Linked DNA regions of Homo sapiens: region 1 is linked to region 2. The links are contacts of gene promoters, found by promoter capture Hi-C in blood cells and fetal thymus (Javierre and others, 2016). All regions are on one chromosome and are shown on one strand. Each heading gives the region's core, a stretch centred on a gene start or on the middle of the fragment in contact. The rest is flanking DNA. Distances are from core to core; before and after follow the strand shown. Region 1 overlaps MTMR3 (myotubularin related protein 3). Region 2 holds the start of CABP7 (calcium binding protein 7).

Evidence for each region. Contacts are between HindIII fragments. The CHiCAGO score rates a contact against its expected background, and 5 or more counts as called.
Region 1: a fragment that was not itself captured here is called in contact with the fragment with the promoter of CABP7 in region 2 in 3 of 17 cell types (neutrophils, erythroblasts and total CD4 T cells); the score reaches 15.6 in neutrophils.

What each region holds. Positions count from the first base shown.
Region 1 is chr22:29,908,802-29,913,797 of GRCh38, reverse strand. The region is part of intron 1 of MTMR3 (myotubularin related protein 3); the gene reads right to left. It also overlaps the pseudogene RNU5F-5P. Among named protein-coding and RNA genes, the nearest start is that of MTMR3, 28 kb to the right of the region's middle. RefSeq lists an enhancer at 233-1,215. The HindIII fragment of the contact is 7,942 bases long and covers 1-4,996 here.
Region 2 is chr22:29,717,432-29,722,270 of GRCh38, reverse strand. CABP7 (calcium binding protein 7) reads right to left here and starts at 2,268. Exons shown (of 5, transcript NM_182527.3): 1 at 1,738-2,268. The coding sequence starts at 1,846. It overlaps CABP7-DT (CABP7 divergent transcript), which reads left to right and starts at 2,368. Exons shown (of 3, transcript NR_186695.1): 1 at 2,368-2,723. RefSeq lists an enhancer at 169-959. The HindIII fragment of the contact is 23,163 bases long and covers 1-4,839 here.

The sequences.
Region 1 (4,996 bases), core at 395-2,894, 190 kb before region 2:
CCTGGGCGACAGAGCGAGACTCCGTCTCAAATAAATAAATAAATAAACCCAAAACCTGGAAAAAAAAAAAACCCCAATATCCATTAACTAGTAAATAAAGGAATTGTGGAATATCCATACAATGGACTACTACTTAGCAATTAAATGGAACAACTACTGCTTTTAACAATATGAATGATTCTCAAAGCATTATACTAAAATGAAAGAGGACAGGCACAAAATAGTATATCCTGTATGATTTCATTTATATTACATCCTAGAAAAAAGGCAAAATTTGTGCAAATTATACCTCTCTAAGGCTGATTTTTTAACCATGTGGCAGCAAAAAGAGTCAAAGGTATACATATGTGCTCTGGTTAAGACCAGTATTTTCCCTAAATCTTAGTTACAGAAGGCTCTGAGAAGTTAATGACTTGCCCCAAATTAGTAACCAGTGGAAACATGTTTTGGGATATAGATCACTTTACTGTAAATATAAACTTGGAATGTACGCTTTAGGAATGATTAAGAAGATCTGTATAACTAAGACCCTTTGTTTCTGTTTTTGTTTTGAGATGGGAGTCTCGCTGTTACCCAGGCTAGAGTGCAGTGGTGCAATCATGGCTCACTGCTGTCTTGATGTCCTGGGCTCAAGCAACTCTCCTACCTCAGCTTCCTGAGTAGCTGGGACTATAGGTGAGCACCACCACAGCTGGATAATAATTATTATTATTATTTTGTAGAGGGGGTCTTGCAATGTTGCCCAGGCTGGTCTCAAACTCCAGGCCTCACAAGTGATTCTCTCGCCTCGGCTTCCCAGAATGCTGGGATTACAGGTGTAAGCCACTGTGCCTGGCTGACTAAGACCCTTTCGATGGAGCTCCAGAACTATGTTTAACTCACAGTTAAGTATTAAAGGAAGTTTCAATTTACATAGGCAAGCCAGCTAAAACAGTTCAGGCCAAGAGTTGGATGATGTAGCACAGACATCTCAAATACTTAGCTTACCACAATCTTGGCCAATGGTCAAGTTTATTTTGGGACTGGAATATTTAAAAGTCCTTCATATTCTCTGCAGCTCCTACACATTGATCCTATTAAGGCCTTCCAATTCTGAATCTTTTAGGTACTCACCTTTCATTCTCACCTAATGCATTACCTCCAGGCAAATGGGGTGGTAAAGAAGAACTGGACTTTGAAAGGCAACATAATGACAACAGCTTATTAAAAAGCAAGACAAGGCCAGGTTTGGTGGCCCATGCCTGCAATCCTCCTAGCACTTTGGGAGGCTGACACAGGAGGATCGCTTGAGTTCTAGATAAGCCTGGGCAACATAGCGAGAACCCATCTCTACTAAAAATTTTAAAATTAGCCAGGCATGGTAGCGCACACCTGTAATCCCAGCTACTTGGGAGGCAGGAGGATCCTTTGAGCCCAGGAGTTTGAGGCAGCAGTGTGCTATGATCATGCCACTGCACTCCAGCCTGGGTGACAAAGCGAGACTTTGTCATTCATTTCTTCATTCATTCATTCATAAACATAAATAAATAATAAAAAGACAGGAAAACTGATCTTAATACCTAATTAGCCACATCAACTTTAACCTTAGCATAAAAAAAACAAATTAAGACTTTTCTTCATCTCTACCATCAACTCATTTTGCAGAAGTCTAACATTTAATCCACAAGTGGGCAATCCATGAAACCTAAAGCAATTACTACAAGTTCACTAATGCTTACTATACATACCTCACCTCTTCATTTCCTCTTGTCTGACTTTTCACCGAGTTTTTCTCCCCTCTCTTTCTGACCCTTTTATATGTTTATCATAGCTACTTTGTAAGAAAACAATAAAGAGGATATTTATGCCTAATCAGTGAAAAGTACTGACTTTATATCTTTGCTATTGTACTTATTATGGTGATAAGCTCTTTAAGGGAAACTTCTACACTGTATAGGCATAAATAATGGGAAAGGAATACTGATTAATTCTATACCCATTATGAACACTTTTCCCTCTAAGCCATTGAAAAATGGAAGATACTTTACTATTTTCACTCCACTGATCCTGAATATTATCTCATATATAAACTGAGTGTACCTATATATATTGTTTACCCTGAGATTAAAGTCCAAACTATTTTTTAAATACGTAGAAAGCCCACTGGAGAAATGGTCAGACTAACATTAAATATACTGGTCAAAATTCTCAGTTGTAAGTAAAAAAAAAAAAACCCAAATCAAGCTATTTTACACAAAATTAAAAAAAAATTTTTTGAGACACAGTCTCACTCTGTCACCCAGGCTGGACTGCAGTATCGTGATCATGGCTCACTGCAACCTTGACCTTCCAGACTCAAGGGACCCTCCCATGTCAGCATCCCAAGTAGTTGGGACCACAGGCGTGTGCTACCACACCTGGCTAATTTTTTTATTTTTTGTAGAGACAAGTCTCCCTACGTTGCCCAGGCTGGTCTCCAACTCCTGGGCTCAAGCAATCGTCTTGCCTCAGCCTCCCAAAGTGCTGTGATTACAGGTGCGAGCCACCACACCCAGCCCAAAAATCAGAATTTAATGGCTCACAGGATAATGAGATGCTGCGTAGAAACAAGGAAAAAAACTTCAGGACCAGGGCCTCAAAGGCACAGTGCCATGGGATCCATCTCTATCTCATGCTCCTCTTTACTTGTTTGGCCTCATTCTGGTTTCATTCTCTTCCACTGCAGACAGACCTCCTGCCTGGGGTAGGGCAGGAATGAAAGAATCTCAAAAACAAGAAATCCAGTGCATGTTCTATTCCTTTTACTAGTATAATTAAGTGTTGGACGCAGATCCCTAATGTTCAAAAAATATGATTTAAGGATACAACTTAGGAATTATCAATAATCCTACTAAACATAAAAGTTAAGAAAATCTAACCCCTGGCACTGAACCACTAACTTATAATTACAGAAAGTCCTGTCACACATGCTCTGGTTTCTCTTCATAATGAATAAATCTTTTTGCCTTTTACTAAAGATTTCCGTGGAGAGTTGAGGCCTTGCTTAGGCAGGGGTAAATATGAGAAAGAAAAAAAAAGTCTTAACAGGTTAAAAAAAAAAAAAAGGAAAAGAGGCATAAAAGTCAATTTAATGGGCTTATATATATGACAGTTTAGCAAGAAAGAGGGCAATCTCATTTTAAAAATTTACTCAATAACAGCACAAATTTGAAACTAAAGTGTGAGACTCCTACTTTTGGTTATCATATAGTCGCCACAGTAATGACTAAAATTCATGTAGCACTCACATAGCTAACTCTCCCTGAAGAAATGCTTCCTTTCTCAAGAGGTTTAAGTGGAAAGGAATATGAAATTTCTTAACACATCTATGTTCGAAATAACTTTGTTTCAGGAGTAATCACTCTGAAACAACTGAGTGTTAAATAAAAACCAGCAACCCCCAAATCTTTGCTGATCCATCACTTTAACTGATCAGTTTACTACCAACTACAGTATTTACCTTTCCAGTAACACTTCTAGTTCCATACAAACTGTTTTGTTCTACATAACTGCACTGGATTTGGATGTACACTCAGATTTTAAACGATGACCTACATTCAGTGGTGTGTGGGTACCTATAAAACACAGAAAAGGGCCCACTTTCTTTTTTTTTTTTGAGATGGAGTCTCGTTCTGTCACCCAGGCTGGAGTGCAGTGGCACAATCTCGGCTCACTGCAAGCTCCGCCTCCTGGGTTCACGCCATTCTCCTGCCTCAGCCTCCCGAGTAGCGAGTAGTGGGGACTACAGGCACCCACCACCATGCCCGGCTAATTTTTTTGTATTTTTTAGTAGAGACGGGGTTTCACCGTGTTAGCCAGGATGGTCTCGGTCTCCTCATCTCATGATCCGCCCGCCTCGGCCTCCCAAAGTGCTGGGATTACAGGCGTGAGCCACCGCACCCGGCCAAAAGGGCCCACTTTCTACTAATTTCTTTCAAGCTCGATCTGAGGCAAGAAAATGATACTCTGTTTTTAACAAGAAGCAAATTTATGTTTATAATAAAGAATTACATATATGGTGATATTTATTATTCCTTAATACAAAGTTCTGTTATATGCTGAGAGACATACTATTTATGAAAAAATTATAAAAATGAAGAGTTACAATTAATGGAGGGGAGAAGTCCAGGTCCTCGCTTATAATTTTAACAGCCAACATGTATAGAGCCCTCTTTTAAGTGCTTCACCATTTATTAGTCATTAATCTTACTCAACTCTACAAAGTAGGTAATATTATTATCCTCATTTTATAAAGAGGGAAACTAAGGAGCAGAGAGATAAGGTAACTTGCCCAAGTCATAAAGCTAGCTAATAAATAATTTACAGATGCAAGTTTAAACCATATAAGAAATTAAGTAGGAACAACACATATACAGCAAATACAAAAACAAGAGAAAAGTCAAAGCACTCAATCTCAAAAAGGCAGAAACGCAACGTAAATTAAGAAACTAATTTTTTTCTCTCAGTGCAATGAAACCAGGTCTGTATCACTGGGGGTTGGGGGAGTAGGGCAAATAATCTGTGTTCTCAAATTATACAAAAATCTCAAAAAAAGTAACATATTTCTTGTGGGCCAGGCACAGTAAGCCCAGGAGTTTGAGACTAGTCTGGGCAATACGGCAATACTCAGTCTCTACAAGAAATAAAAACTCAGCTGAGCATGGTGGAGGCTAAATTGGGAGGATGGCTTGGGCCTGGGAAGGTCGTGGGAGCCTGGAAGGTCGAGGCTGCAGTAGACTGTGCCACTGCACTCCAGCCTGGGCAACAGAGTGAGAATTTGTCTCAAAAAAAAAAAAAGAAAAGAAAAGAAAAGAAAAATTAACATATTTCTTAAATAAATAAAAGCACTCTTAACTTTTGGGAAGCACATTCTGGAGAAAACATGTATTAAATAAATGACAGCACTTTGGAAATTAACTTTTTATTCCTAAATATGCTTTAAAGAATACAGCAAATAGCTAAAAGCAATCCTTCATAA
Region 2 (4,839 bases), core at 1,019-3,518:
GCCTCTCAGCCTCTCCCCTTCCTCAGGGAGTGCACTCCAGGACTGGGGATCAGGAGAGGAGGGACCCAGAAAGGGCTGGAGTTGGGGTGGTGGGGTCCTGGTGGGGGTGCTGGGAGCAAGGGGAGGGAGTGAAGCGGAAGCTGCCTGGGGTCTGGGAGACATGGTGACTCCTGCTTGGATGGTCAGGAGGAGGGGATGGATGAGGGCCTCTGGAGGGAAAAATCTGCAGGAGGTTTGAGGTGGCCCAGGGCCGGAGGGGACAAAGGTGGGGAGGAGAAGGCCTATGCTCCATCTCCTGACCTTTCGCCCCCCACCATCGTACCCCTCCTTTCCCCGGGCTCTGGAGGAGGCTCTGGCCCTGGGTTTTAGGGGTGAATGGTGAGGTCATGTCGGGGGGCCCCAATCATCCATCTGTCCTGTCCGCATCAGACCCCAGACCCTGTCTCCACAGCTCTCCCCGCTTCTGAGGGTTTGCAGGGGCAGTTGGTGAGGAGCCTGGTGGCTCATGCCTATGGTGCAGTGAGCGAGGCAGAGGCTGCCTTCTCTCTCTGGATCTTCCCCCGACCCATTCTGACTCCTCTAAGATCTGCCCTCACCCTGGGCCTGGGTTGAGGGAGGACCTCCCTCCATGGCTTCCCCTGGGCTCCCACCATCCTCCCTGACTGTGCTGGTCTTGGCTGCACCCTCCCAGGCCCTAATGAGCCTCCAGATCTCAGAGACCCCTGGATCCAAGGTACCCCGAGAGGCCCATCCTCTGGGTGAGCTCAGCCCCTTGCAACAGCAGACATGCAGATCCCAGGAGGCCGTGACCCCCATCAGCCCAGATCCCCCACTCCACTCCATATGGGGGCTCCAGGAGGTCTGGGGGGAGGGGAAACCTCAGCACCTCCCCCAGCCCAGCAGGGAAGGAGCTGGGCGGGCCCCAGGGGTCTCACTGCTCCTCAGGACACACTGTCCCGGACCCCTGCCCCTGCCCTCTGCTCTGACCTCGCCCAGCCAGCGGCCTGCCATCCCCCTGCGAGTCTGAGAGGCAGGGGGAACGGGGTGGGGGCGGGTTTGGGTCCTGGCCTCTCTGCCTTTCCCTTCCAGGCTTGGCTATCGCGACTTAGCCGCCCAGTCCGGCCACTTGTTGTCGCCACCGCCTCCCGGGCCGCCTTCCCGGCGCGCCGGGCTGGGGGTCCCCGCAGGGCTGCAGGGAAGGGGCTACGGCCGCAGGTGGGGACGGGGGCGGCCCCGCAGCGGGCAAGAGCAGGGCAGTCGCCCTCTCCCCTTCTGCTGCTGCCCGAGCAGATTGAATTTTTAAAGCGACACGAGCGGAATGTCAATGCGAGCAGAGAGCCGCGGGCGGGCGCCGCGGAGGGGATCAGGATGCGGGTGCTCCGGCCGGGCCGGCGCTGGGGGCTCAGCGCGGACCCCCGCCCCAGTCCGCCGCGTTGCCGCACCGTCACCGCCGACTGCGCGGCCCCGTGACCCCGCTGCGGGGCCCGGCAAGTTTCCGCAGCGCTGGGGACCACGCGGGCAGGGGCTGGGCCGCTCTCCGCCTGAGCGACCCCCACCGCGGCGCCCCGGGGTGCGGACAGGTCTTGCCGCGGGGCACAGCTGCTAGCTGGGGCGCCCACCTGGCAACCGGCACCTGCGGACCGCCCCCCGCCCCCCGCCCCCGCGCCCCTGGCCCGCGCTTCACCTGGGCGCACAGGTAGGAGGGCCGCCGGGGCGGGGATCCCGGCGGACACTCACCCTCCAGCTCGTCCTCCGGGATGTCCACCGGGCGCTGCTCCGACAGCAGGTTGGGCACGGTGTAGATGCCCCGGTACATCAACGCCGCCGTCACCGGGTGGAACGGCATCTTGGAGGCTCCGCGCCCGCCCGCCCGCCGCAAACTTTGAGGCCGGGGCTCATGGGCCGGTGGCGGCCCCGGGGGCGGCTGGAGCGGGCGGGGCGCGCGGCTGCGGAGGGCGGCGGCGGCAGCGGCGAGGCTGGGGACGCCCCTCCGGGGGCCTAGCGCCCCCGCGCCCCGGGCCGCCGGGCCATGCCGCCCGCTCCCTCGTCGGGCTCCCAGCCGGGGCCCCGCAGGGGCAGCGGGGGCGGCGCCGCTCTGGCCTTTCCGAGAGCTCCGGCTGCCTCGCGCGGTGCCCGCCGCGCCCGCTCCTCGGTGCCCCGCGCGCTCCGCGCTGCTCGCCGCCCGCTAGTCCGCTCGCCGGCGCGGCCGCTACCGGCCCGGCGCTCAGGCTGTAGCCGCCTCTCCGCTCGCTCGCTCGCTCGTTCTGTGCCGCGCTGGCTGCGCTCCCCGCCTCCCCCGCCAGCCGCCCGCCCGCCCCCTCCGCGCTCCCCACCCCCAGCCCGCCCCTTCCCGCCGCCGGCCCCTGAGCGGCCGCCCCAAACCTGCCCGGGGCTCCTTCTCCCCTTCGGCCCCGATTCCCCTTTCCCACTAGGGCTCCCCTCTGTTCACTGGCTCTCCTCACCCTAAGTCTGCAGCCACCAGGACCAGGGAGGGGGTGGGTTGCGGGGGTCCTCCTTCCTGCCCCTTGGCTCACCTTCCCCCATCCACGCACCAGGAGCGGAGAGCCCGGAACTAAGAACTGTAGACCCAGAGAGGTGAGACTGGCCCCAAGCACCTGGGTCCTCAAGAAGAGTCACCGTTTCCGTGCCAGGAGGATCCAAGGTGGGGAAACTGAGGCTGAGAGAGAAGGACGTTGACCAAGGTCACAGGGCAGGAGCAGCAGGTAAGAGCTGGGTACACGTCTGGGGTAGGCTTCCTGCCCTGCCTGTGACTGACACCCTGCCGCTGACCTTGCTCCCCACAATGGGGCCCCAGTCCCGGACCCTTCCCAAGCCCCTACCTTTCAGCTTGCAGAAGAGGAGCCAAAGTGTCTCATGGCCCCCAGGGCAGTTCGGGACAGAGACATGGCCCGGTGCCTGTGGGGTCTGGTGTGAGGGCCTGCCAGTTCACATGGCTGCAGCTCAGACCTAATGTATGTGCAGGGCTTCCCCAGGCCCCAGGGCACGTCGGCACCCCAGAGCTGGGGTGGGGGCAGGTGTTTGAGGGAGCAGCCTGCGTGTGCATATGTCTGCTATCCATGAGGGTGTGTATGTGCCACTGGGCACGTGCGCAGGTGTCTGTGACTCCATATGCAGATGGACAAATGTCGGGAGTGTGTGGCCACCTGTGTGTGCCAAGGTTGTACGCTGGCAGGTCGGGGGAGGTGTGCAGGCCCTGGGGCTGGGAGTGGTGTGGGCATATGGTGCACAGATGTGCATGGGAGGGGGTGACCTTCTGGCCTGGCTGTGGCCCCATCTCTGGGTGCTTCCCTGAATCCCCCTACTGGGACCACCTCCCTGCCCCCTTTGGCCCAATCAGCTAAAGGTCCCAGCAGGAACGCTGATTGCACAGCCCTGCCCGGTCCTGCCCTGCCCTTCCCAAGCTGATTACACTTTTCTGCTTGTTTCTGTTTTTGTTACTGATTAATCGCAGCCTTGTCTCAGGGTCTGGGGAGAAGGGGCTCAGTGAGAGATGCTAGCCCCAGCCAAGCGGGGTTGGGTCAGCCTGGGCCCAGCACTTCCTGGGCCCTGCTCTGGAGGGAGCTCCTAGAAACATCTATAACCTGCGGAGGAGCCAGGAAGGACACCAGCTGTCTGTCTGTCTCCCCAGACCTCTCCGGGCTAGCTGGTTGCCCACTGGGACCTGGGCCTGGAGGTGAGAGAGGCCCCAGAAAAGCTCCCACCCCACTCCAAAGCTCTCCTTGCCCACCTGTCCCATCTTCTGACCTTCCACCGCTAGAGCTGAATGCCTTGAGCTTCCCCAGTGTTTTTGATGGAGCAGAGACTTGAGGAAGTAAGAACCCAGCACCAAGAGCCAGGCAGACTGGGGCTTCTGCATCCACCATCTCCTCACCATGGAACTACAGTCAGGTCCCTTAACCGGCCATAGCCTCAGTTTCCCTGCCTGTTAAGGTGGCAGTGCCACATCCCAGGCAGCGGTGAGGATGAAGTGACATAATGTAGGAAAGGTGCCGGGCATCACCTCCCTGAAACTCTTGGGAGTTTCCTATTAGCATGAACATCCCCCCCAAGGAATAGGAATTAATAATAATTATAGCTTCGAGTATTGATTGAGAGAGCGAGCCGCAGCAGCAGCTCAGTCGTTCCACGTTTACTAAGTGTCCAGGCTGTGCCAGCCCAGGCCTGTCAGTTCTAAATCAGAACCCCTGGGCCAAGGGAGAGTGGGCTAGAGCCTGCTGAGAGGCTGGCAGGAAACCCAGCTCCCAGTGACTCCCTGGGAGGCCGCTGCAGAGCGTGTTGGTACTCGCCCTGTGAAGGGGAAGCTCCTGGGCTTGCTGTCCAGGTGGGTATTTTTTTTTATTTTTTTAGGTGGAGTCTTTCTCTGTTGCCCAGGCTGGATTGCAGTGGCATGATCTCGGCTCACTGCAACCTCCGCCTCCCAGGTTCAAGTTATTCTCATGCCTCAGCCTCCCGAATAGCTGGGACTACAGGCACATGCCATCACACCCAGCTAATTTTTGTATTTTTCGTAGAGAACATGTTGGCCAGGCTGGTCACAAACTCCTGACCTCAAGTGATCTACCCGCCTTGGCCTACTAAAGTGCTGGGATTACAGGCGTGAGGCACCACTCCCAACCCATGGTGGCTTTTTTTTTTTCAAGTCAAGGGAATTCCAGGGGTCAAGAGGAGGGTGGGCAAAAGCTCAGAAGTGTGAGAGGGCCTCTCTTAGCTCTGAAGGGCAGGTCTGGGTCTGGGTTCTCCAGATCTCCTACGCTTGGCACAGGACTGGAATGGGCTAAGGTGGCTGGGGCTGGATGAACATCTGTCAAATGAATGAAC